Linked DNA regions of Homo sapiens: region 2 is linked to region 1. The links are contacts of gene promoters, found by promoter capture Hi-C in human tissues and cell types (Jung and others, 2019). All regions are on one chromosome and are shown on one strand. Each heading gives the region's core, a stretch centred on a gene start or on the middle of the fragment in contact. The rest is flanking DNA. Distances are from core to core; before and after follow the strand shown. Region 1 holds the start of PTGDR (prostaglandin D2 receptor). Region 2 has its middle 38 kb from the start of PTGDR.

Region 1 (4,049 bases), core at 1,107-3,606:
GTTTGCTAACTCCTGTTTTAGAGTGTGATTCTACAAATGTGAACCCTGAATCTGAGCTTGCATATCACCTGGGAACTTGTTAAGAATGAAAATTCTTTAAAAATGTCTGAATTAGAAACTCTGGGGAATGGGGTCCAGCCATCTTTTTTTCTAGAAGCCTTGCTGGTGATTCTGAGCTGGTGATTCTGAAGACCACTGCTATATGTCATCTGCGCCTATATCTACATTTAGATAGATATAGATTTATGTATTTGTTTATTTATTTTGGGGGCATACTGTTCCCACCCCTGCATGCTGATGCCCCAGACTTCTTTTTCCGCAAGCAGTAAGGCCTTCATTTAAAGGAAAATCGCTTTGTATTTCCCTTTCATTCACCATTGAAAGTAATATCCAAAATGGCTACATTCTGAGAAGAAATTTAACAACTTTCCTATTCACAGAAGTCTCAGGATTTCGAGAACGTGGGATTGGCAATGGAATTTCTGTAAGTATTGTTTTTGTTGAACAGGTACCTTGGGAGAAAGGAGAGGAGCAGCACTGAAAATGTTTCCTCAAGCCTCACCTACTCCCAGGTGTCTTGGCGGGGACTCCAGGAACAAATGCCTTCAAAATGAGGAGATAATTTCATTTCCATCGCTATCCTCATTACCAAATTGAAACCGGAGATAATGGCTTTCATGTCACCTCACTTGCCAAGATACACTCAAAACCCGTCAAGTCAGGTTGTCAAAACGACACCAGCAGCTAAAACATACAAAGAGCCTCGGCCTCCATCGCCACAATCCCTGGCGGATGCAGCACCAGAAACAGCAGCCGTGGCGTCTCAAAGTTTACGCACGCGTTTTTCAAAATTAAAACTATGCATCTGCAAATCACTCTGGCTGGCTTAAACCTCTTTTTCCCTTTCTATGCCAACACCGGGGAGAAGATCGTCCCAGACGCCATTCGCCCATTTCTGATACCACTGAAGTCATGAGCAGGTCTAACAAAATAAAACATCACCCAGCCGTCGGGAAGTAGAAGACTCCTGTTGCCAAGGAGAAACTAAGTTCTGCTCCTCCTAAGGCGCAAAAATGACCTCGAGATCTCCCCAGAAGGAAGCAGAGAGGAGGGAGTTCTGCCACATGGAGAGGGTTTTGCTGGGCTAGGGAGACACCGCCGGGCTCAGCCTTTCCCTTCCTTTCTCTAACTTTCCCTCATTTCGCTCCGCAAACTGAGTTATATCTCGGGGCTGTGGAAGGAATCCAATTTGGGGAACTCAGCAGCAAACCTTCCTGGCCCAGGGCGCAGCTCGCCTGGCGCCGCGTCCATCCCGATCCGCTCCACCCTTCCCGCCCCGCATCCGCGGCCGGACAGTCTCAGTGCCCTGCTGCCTCGGGGCCCGGGGACTCACAATTACGGGCAGAGAACACATAGTGAAGAGCACGGTCATCAGCGCCAGCAGCAGGAGGTGATCCAGCTCCTCCAGGGGCTGAGGGGACGCTTCCCTCCCGTCCGCGCGCGGCTCGGCACAGTCCCTGGTGCAGGAGCGCGGGTGCCGCTGCAGCCGCCGGTGCATCGCATAGAGGTTGCGCATGGCGCCGAGGTTGCACAGCACGGTGGCGAGGACCAGCAGCGCCATGAGGCTGGAGTAGAGCACAGAGTACCCCAGCACCGACAGCGAGCCCTCCTCGTGGACCATCTGGATAAAGCACCAGGTGCCGGGGCAGTACTGCACGAACTTCCCGAAGCCCATGAAAGGTAGCGCGCAGAAAGCCAGGGAGAAGGCGCTCACCACCGGGGCCACCAGTGCGCCCAGGCGCAGGGTGATGTGCCGTCGGTAGAAGAAAGGGTGCCCTAGGGAGAGCCAGCACTCCAGTGCCATGGCCAGGAGTTGCAGTGTCGAGGAGAGCCCAAAGAAGGACATGAAGAAGGCGAAGGCTTGGCACAACGAGTTGTCCAATGCGGGCGCAAGCACCCGCAGACTCCGGTTCTGAGCGTAGGCAGCCAGCACCACCGGGCTTAGGAGGCACTTGCCCAGCAAGTCGGTGACCGTCAGGCCACACACCAGCATGTAGAAGACCGAGGGCAGCGGGCGCAGTGGACGCCGCGAGCACCACCCCAGCCCCGAGCGCGCCAGCAGCCCCAGGGCCAGCAGGTTGCCCAGGAGGCCGGTGCTGAAGAGCACCCCGCCCATCACCGCCGAGTTGCCTTTTTCCACAGAGGTGGTGTTCTGGCAGCGGTAGAACGGCGACTTCATGGCGTGCGGGAGCAGAGGGCTGGAGTGAAGGCTGCGGAAGGGCGAGGGCCCCGGCGCCCGGGTGCTAAGGAGCCCCCGGCAGCTCCGCGCGCGGCTCGGGCGGAGAAGCTGCGCCACAGAAAAAGCTCCGAGGGCGGCGGGGTGTTCCCCACGGCAGGAACCTCCTATCTAAACTCGCGGGTCACACCCCTCTTTGAGAGGCGGGACGCTCTGCAGGGTGAGCGCCTGGCGCTGGCATTGAAGAGCGCGGAGCAGGCCAGTGAAGAGCTCGGCCCTGACGCGCTGCGTTCTCAGTAGAGACAGACTCTGGTGCCGAGTCGGAACGGCAGGAGGAAAATAGCCAGAATTCCAAGCACCCAACACCAGTCCTTCTAGCGAGGCAAGAGAAGAACTACTAAAGTGGAGGGGAAATTAAGCAGCAGCCACCTGAGAGGAGGGCAATGGTGCTGGTGTTTGAACTGGGGTGGCCAAGAACTCGAAAGATGAGCGAAGAGGGGAGGCTGAGAAAGGGCTTCTACCTAGTTGTCTTGAATTAGCTAGTCAAGGAAAGGTAAAGATAACTCACGTCTGGAAAGCCCCTGAGCCTTAGCTCCTCTTCTCTACTAGATCAGCGCAATTTGGGGCATTCACGGTCATCTCCATTGCATAGGCGAGGAAACTGAGGCCTTGGAAAGTTAAGTGATCTGCCCGTGGTGACAGAGCTACAGAAGTAGCAGAGCCGGACCTCTCACCCGATCTTCTATTTTGGAGTTCATCTGTCCTGTTCCCATGACTCCTCCTCCCAAGAAGTTGTCCAGATTTCAGGGAAGTGGTTTGTGGGAAAGCCAAGAGCCGGTGTTGGTCCTGGGTGCCATGAATCACATTGACTGTAGAGAGCTGGGGGGAAGGGCATGGTTAGCAGCACTGTTGCTGTCATCAGATAGGCCTGGGTTTGAGTCCAGGTTCTGCTCCTCACTGTGTGTGTGACCTTATGGGACTTGCTTAGCCTCTCAAGCAGTAACATCTATCTGGCCTGCTTGGCTCTTCTGAGGCATAGAAATAACACGTAAAGAGCAAGTACATAGAAAGTGCTCAATTCATGCAATCACCATGATTCTTATTTGATAGAAGGGTGTTTTGGTAGCTGATGTTTAACTGCAGTTTTTAGCATGGATTTTGAAATCAGAAAATGGTAGATTTGGCATAGAGCTTTCTCACTCCTCTGATTTGTGGCTACTAGAAAAAATTTATTCCTGTTTGGGCTTTGACTTGGCTGCATCATAAAGGCAAGGGAGTTAATTGTGATAAGCGTGATTTTATATCTTTAACTAGCATTCGATGCCCTGTGAGAGAAATTGGCTTTGAGTGTGGAATCTCAGTGGGATGACTAAGGTTTTGTTATGTAAGTGAGTAGATGATGCCTGGGCTTGAAACGGCTCATTTTTAGGCCTCATGCCAGTTCTGATGGACAGACTCAGGGAAAGAGCAAGACCCTTGGGATTTAGATGTGAAAGCCTGAAGGGTAGACAGAGAGGCTGCCTCCAGACTGAAAGTCTGGCCAGTAATTCAGGCCACAGGGTGGAAAAGAAGAATCTAAGCTTGGAATTAGATAGTTCTGAACTCCACCACTGGCTGTGTGACCCTGGGTTAGTTGTTCAACCTAATGGAATATGAGACTTATGCTGAACTTGTGGGGTTGTTGTGAGGTTGAGAAAACTTGAAGTGCTTTGGCATAGTGTAATAATAATAATAAGAGCTAATATTTATTGGTCCTGATGCAGGTTGGACACTCTCTAAGCCTTTCACTTATATTGACTCAATAGAAGGCCTT
Region 2 (4,049 bases), core at 400-2,899, 38 kb after region 1:
GTAGAGACAGCTGTGTGTTCACTTGTGTTATAAACTTTATTCATCATGGGAAATTGAATTTTCTGTCTTGTTTTGTTATAATTAAGCCACTAATTATCACCATACTTGTTAAAAAGTTTTCAATGTTTACCATGTAAATTTCCCAGATATTTCCTCCTTGTAGTTGTATAGGTGAAATATGAGATGGAGTTTATAAAATATTCATGTCTAAAATACAACACAAAATCTCATCTTGCATAGGTTCAAGAGAAAAGACCTATAAACACTGACACATGTTGATCCTCTGAAATAAAAGCAGCATTCCCCCATGTCACCCTCCAGGGAAGCAGCCCCTCTCCTTTAGACAATCTCTGCCCAAGCATATAGAGATTCCAATCTCTCTTTTTTTCAATGCCTCACTCTTAAATATAACCGGTCATCCATGGGACATCCAGATATTTGAGAAAATCTTTCAACATTTAAGATAGAGAACAAAATAATCAAGAAGAAACCTCCCAGAGAAAGCAGAGACAATGCAACAGAAGAACACTTTAGATTAGAAGAGCAATGCTATCTATAATAAAATAATCAAGATGTTATATAAAGAGGGGTGTTCAGAAATAGCAAGAAAGAGGATACCATCAACTTTAAATGGGAAGTGGAGCAAGAAGACTTGATGGACAATAGGAGAGAAAAGAACAAATTAAAGATCAATCCAGCAGGCCTAACATTAGTCTAATAGGCACAAAAGTAATAGAGAACAGAAAAAATGGAGTGGAAAAAACTGTCAGGGAAAGAATACAAGACAATTCTGCAGAACTTTAGGATAGAAGGTTTCAAATTTAAGAGCCCACTGAGTACTCAGCAACACGGCTAAAAAAAGACCACACCAGAGCACATCATTATGAAATTTTAGATCGCTAATTATAAGGGTTAACTTTATTGTATCAGATTTTGACTTCTTGACTTCAACACTGAAAATTAGGTGCAAATGAAGAAATGACTTCAGCATTCAGGGAAATACTGCCCAAACTATTGATCAAGAAGGTGTGCAGAATAAAATGTCTTAGACATCCAATTTTTCAAAGACTTTACCTGCCATGCACCCTTTACAAGAAGGTAGTAGAGGATGTGTCTCAAAAACACAAGGGGTTGAAAAGCAAAAAGAAGGCATAGGATACAAGAAAGAGGTGATCTGGCACAAGAAAACAGTAATGGAATTCCCAGAATGATGGAGGAAGAACACCCAGAAATCCTCTAGGGCAACTATGCCTGAAAGGAGCAAGATGACAAAAGTTGCAGGGAAAAATGTCTCAAGAGGCAAAGAAAGGATTCACAGTTGAGTCCTGCTGAAGGGTTTAATGATCATTGAATTAATGGGTACATATAAAAAAAAAAGAAAATGAAAAAAAACAGGCAATTAACTCCAAGAAAAGTAAAGTGCTGTACAGCAAAGGAAGTTTAACCATAGTAACTATAAATAGCACAATGAAAAGATTTTTTACTTAGTCATAAAATGCCCTATTTGATATAATCCAAACCTAAGCCAATTCGCTTTCATTATAAAGTGGGGTACCTGGGGGAGACTGTTATACAAAATAAGGCAATGTTCCTGTAATCCTGCTGGAAATAAAACTGTTTCTACTTGGGATCAAGTATGTTAGAACAGGTTGCTATATACTTCCTGAAGATTGTTTGCAAGACACAGAAATCCACCTGAGGATGCTTAAGTAAAAAAGGAGTTTAAGGGATATGCACAGAATGCAAAGCAGGAAGCACCCCAGGCCTCATGGGAATGGAAAGTCCTCAGAGCACAACCTTCTCCTTCCTTCTCCTTCCCTTTCTGGTGTCTCCTATCTATGCATATCTCCTTTCTCCTCTCAATGCAAACTACTTCCTTGAGTCTTAGTTTCTGTTTAGACCCTGGCTTGATTGAGATTCTGACTTTCCTGATGCTGTCAGGGAGAAAATAAAGAAAATCAAGAGAGGCTCTAGATACTTTCTGAATAACAAGTAAAGACAAGCACAAATTTAAGTTCCAGAATAATTCAGAGAAGCTGTACAGTGTAAGTTAGAAATCACAGTGCGAGTTTGTGTATTCCATTTTTAAGGGAGTGGCAGAGACTAATAAGTATTCACCATTATCTACTGTCTCTTCTTTTGATAATCAAACCTCCACATTTTAGCAAGGCACATGGCTACCTAGCTAGAGATATTCACAGGCCTCAGCTGGAGCTGGACAGATGTGGCCATGTGACCTGGTTTTGGTCAATAGAATGTTAGCAGAAATTATGTGTCTACTTGCAAGGAATATCTTGCTTTCCATTGCCTATATTGCTTCCCACATACCAGAATCCCTAGCTACTGTAACTTAGACTTGCTAATTTTTGAAGTTTATTTCTTTTAAACTCATAATCCACAGATTTCCCCTCTGTCCCTTTCTTTTCCTGACAATTTATCTGTTGAGGAACCCAGGCCCTTTGACATGTAGTTTCTCACAGTCTGGCTTTTGCAACTGCATGCTCACAGTGAAGCTTAGCCTGTTCCTCTGTCCTCTGGTATTTCCCTTCCCTGGCAGCTGGATTTAGAGGATTGATCCAACTCAGATTCAAAGCCCTTGATAGGCCACAGGTGGTACTTTGTTTTCTCATCAGTAATCCTAATTGAGAATGCAAATTTATTATTCAAAATTCACAAAATTAAATAAGTATAACAAATTTAAATACTTAAGCTTTTAAAGCAGAGGTCCCCAACACCCAGGCTGTGGACCCATCTCCTGTCAGATCAGTGGCAGCATTAGATTCTCATAGGAGTGCGACCCCTATTGTGAACTGTGCATGTGAGGGATCCAGGTTGGGTGCTCCTCATGAGAATCTAATGCCTGATTATCTGAGTCTGAGGTGAAACAGTTTCATCCTGAAACCATCCCTCTATGCTCCCCTTCCGTGGAAAAATTGTCTTCCATGAAACTGGTCCCTGGTGCCAAAAAGGTTGGGGACTGCTGTTTTAAAGGATGTGTTTTATAAATTCCTAACATTTGTTTTCCTGAAATTTTAGAACTTAATATTGCCCTAAAACTTTTGGGACACTATATTTATAAAGCGATGATAAAATACCTCCTGGATTCATATGGATACTTTGGATTCAAATTCAGCACTCTAGGGCTTTTACTCTCCTCATTTTGGTACTACTGTATCTCCTTTGGTTTACATTCAAATTTCAGATTCCCAAGGAAAAAAGAGAATTACAATATCAGTGTTTAGGTATTCTTAACCATAACATTAAATATGCGTAATAAAAAGGACAGCAGATACACAATTTTGTGTAATCCACTCTTTGATTTAGAGATACAATTAATGAAATTAATATTGTATGGGTAAACTGTTTTAAGACTGTATATATGGAAATAAATTATTGTATGCCCCAATATCTTTGATTCAGCCTTGATTAAAATTATACTTAACATAGAGTGCAAATTGTTTTTAAACAGGAACTTGTAGGAAACCTCCAGGAAGCTGTTGATACAAGTGTCTTTGAGAGTCGAAAGCATTGAAAGTGCTGGATTAACAGTTAGCCTTTATTTAGATAGATAAGGCAGATGGTGAGTAAATACTTCCAATATGATTTGCCATAAACTGTAACTTAAATATATAATTACTCTGTTTTTTACTGTACGTTTTCGGCTTCACCTTGTAACCAAACACAGGTGCAGTTGCTCACCACTTACAGAGTGCAATTAACAAGAGGGAGCTCTGGTAGAAAGAAAGTGACTATTAGTGGAAACCAGGAAAGGGGAAGTGACCGGATTCCTGTTCAAAGCTTTGATTTTAGGGTTGGGGGAGGCAGGGGTTTAAAAAAGGAAAACTTGATAAGGAAGGCATGCAAGAATTAGGCTGAGTACAATGTGTGTCTGGTTCAGGTGGCTATCTTGGGTCCCAGTCCACCTGGATCGTGGGCTGGAGACATCTGGAGACATCTCAGCAACGGCCGAGTTATTGATTAGCCAGCTTGAAGTAGTCTCTGGAATTGTGTCACTGAGTCTCCAGGCTTAGGCTGTGTGTCTGAAGATT

What was found. The method cuts DNA at HindIII sites, captures the fragments that hold promoters and counts their contacts. A contact is called where the count stands out against the background at its distance.
Region 2: a contact is called between a fragment that was not itself captured here and the fragment with the promoter of PTGDR in region 1, in 2 of the 25 tissues and cell types used here (bladder and mesenchymal stem cells).

What each region holds. Positions count from the first base shown.
Region 1 is chr14:52,266,005-52,270,053 of GRCh38, reverse strand. PTGDR (prostaglandin D2 receptor) reads right to left here and starts at 2,356. Exons shown (of 2, transcript NM_000953.3): 1 at 1,394-2,356. The coding sequence starts at 2,239. The HindIII fragment of the contact is 10,952 bases long and covers 1-4,049 here.
Region 2 is chr14:52,227,670-52,231,718 of GRCh38, reverse strand. No RefSeq gene overlaps it. Among named protein-coding and RNA genes, the nearest start is that of PTGDR, 38 kb to the left of the region's middle. The HindIII fragment of the contact is 3,210 bases long and covers 45-3,254 here.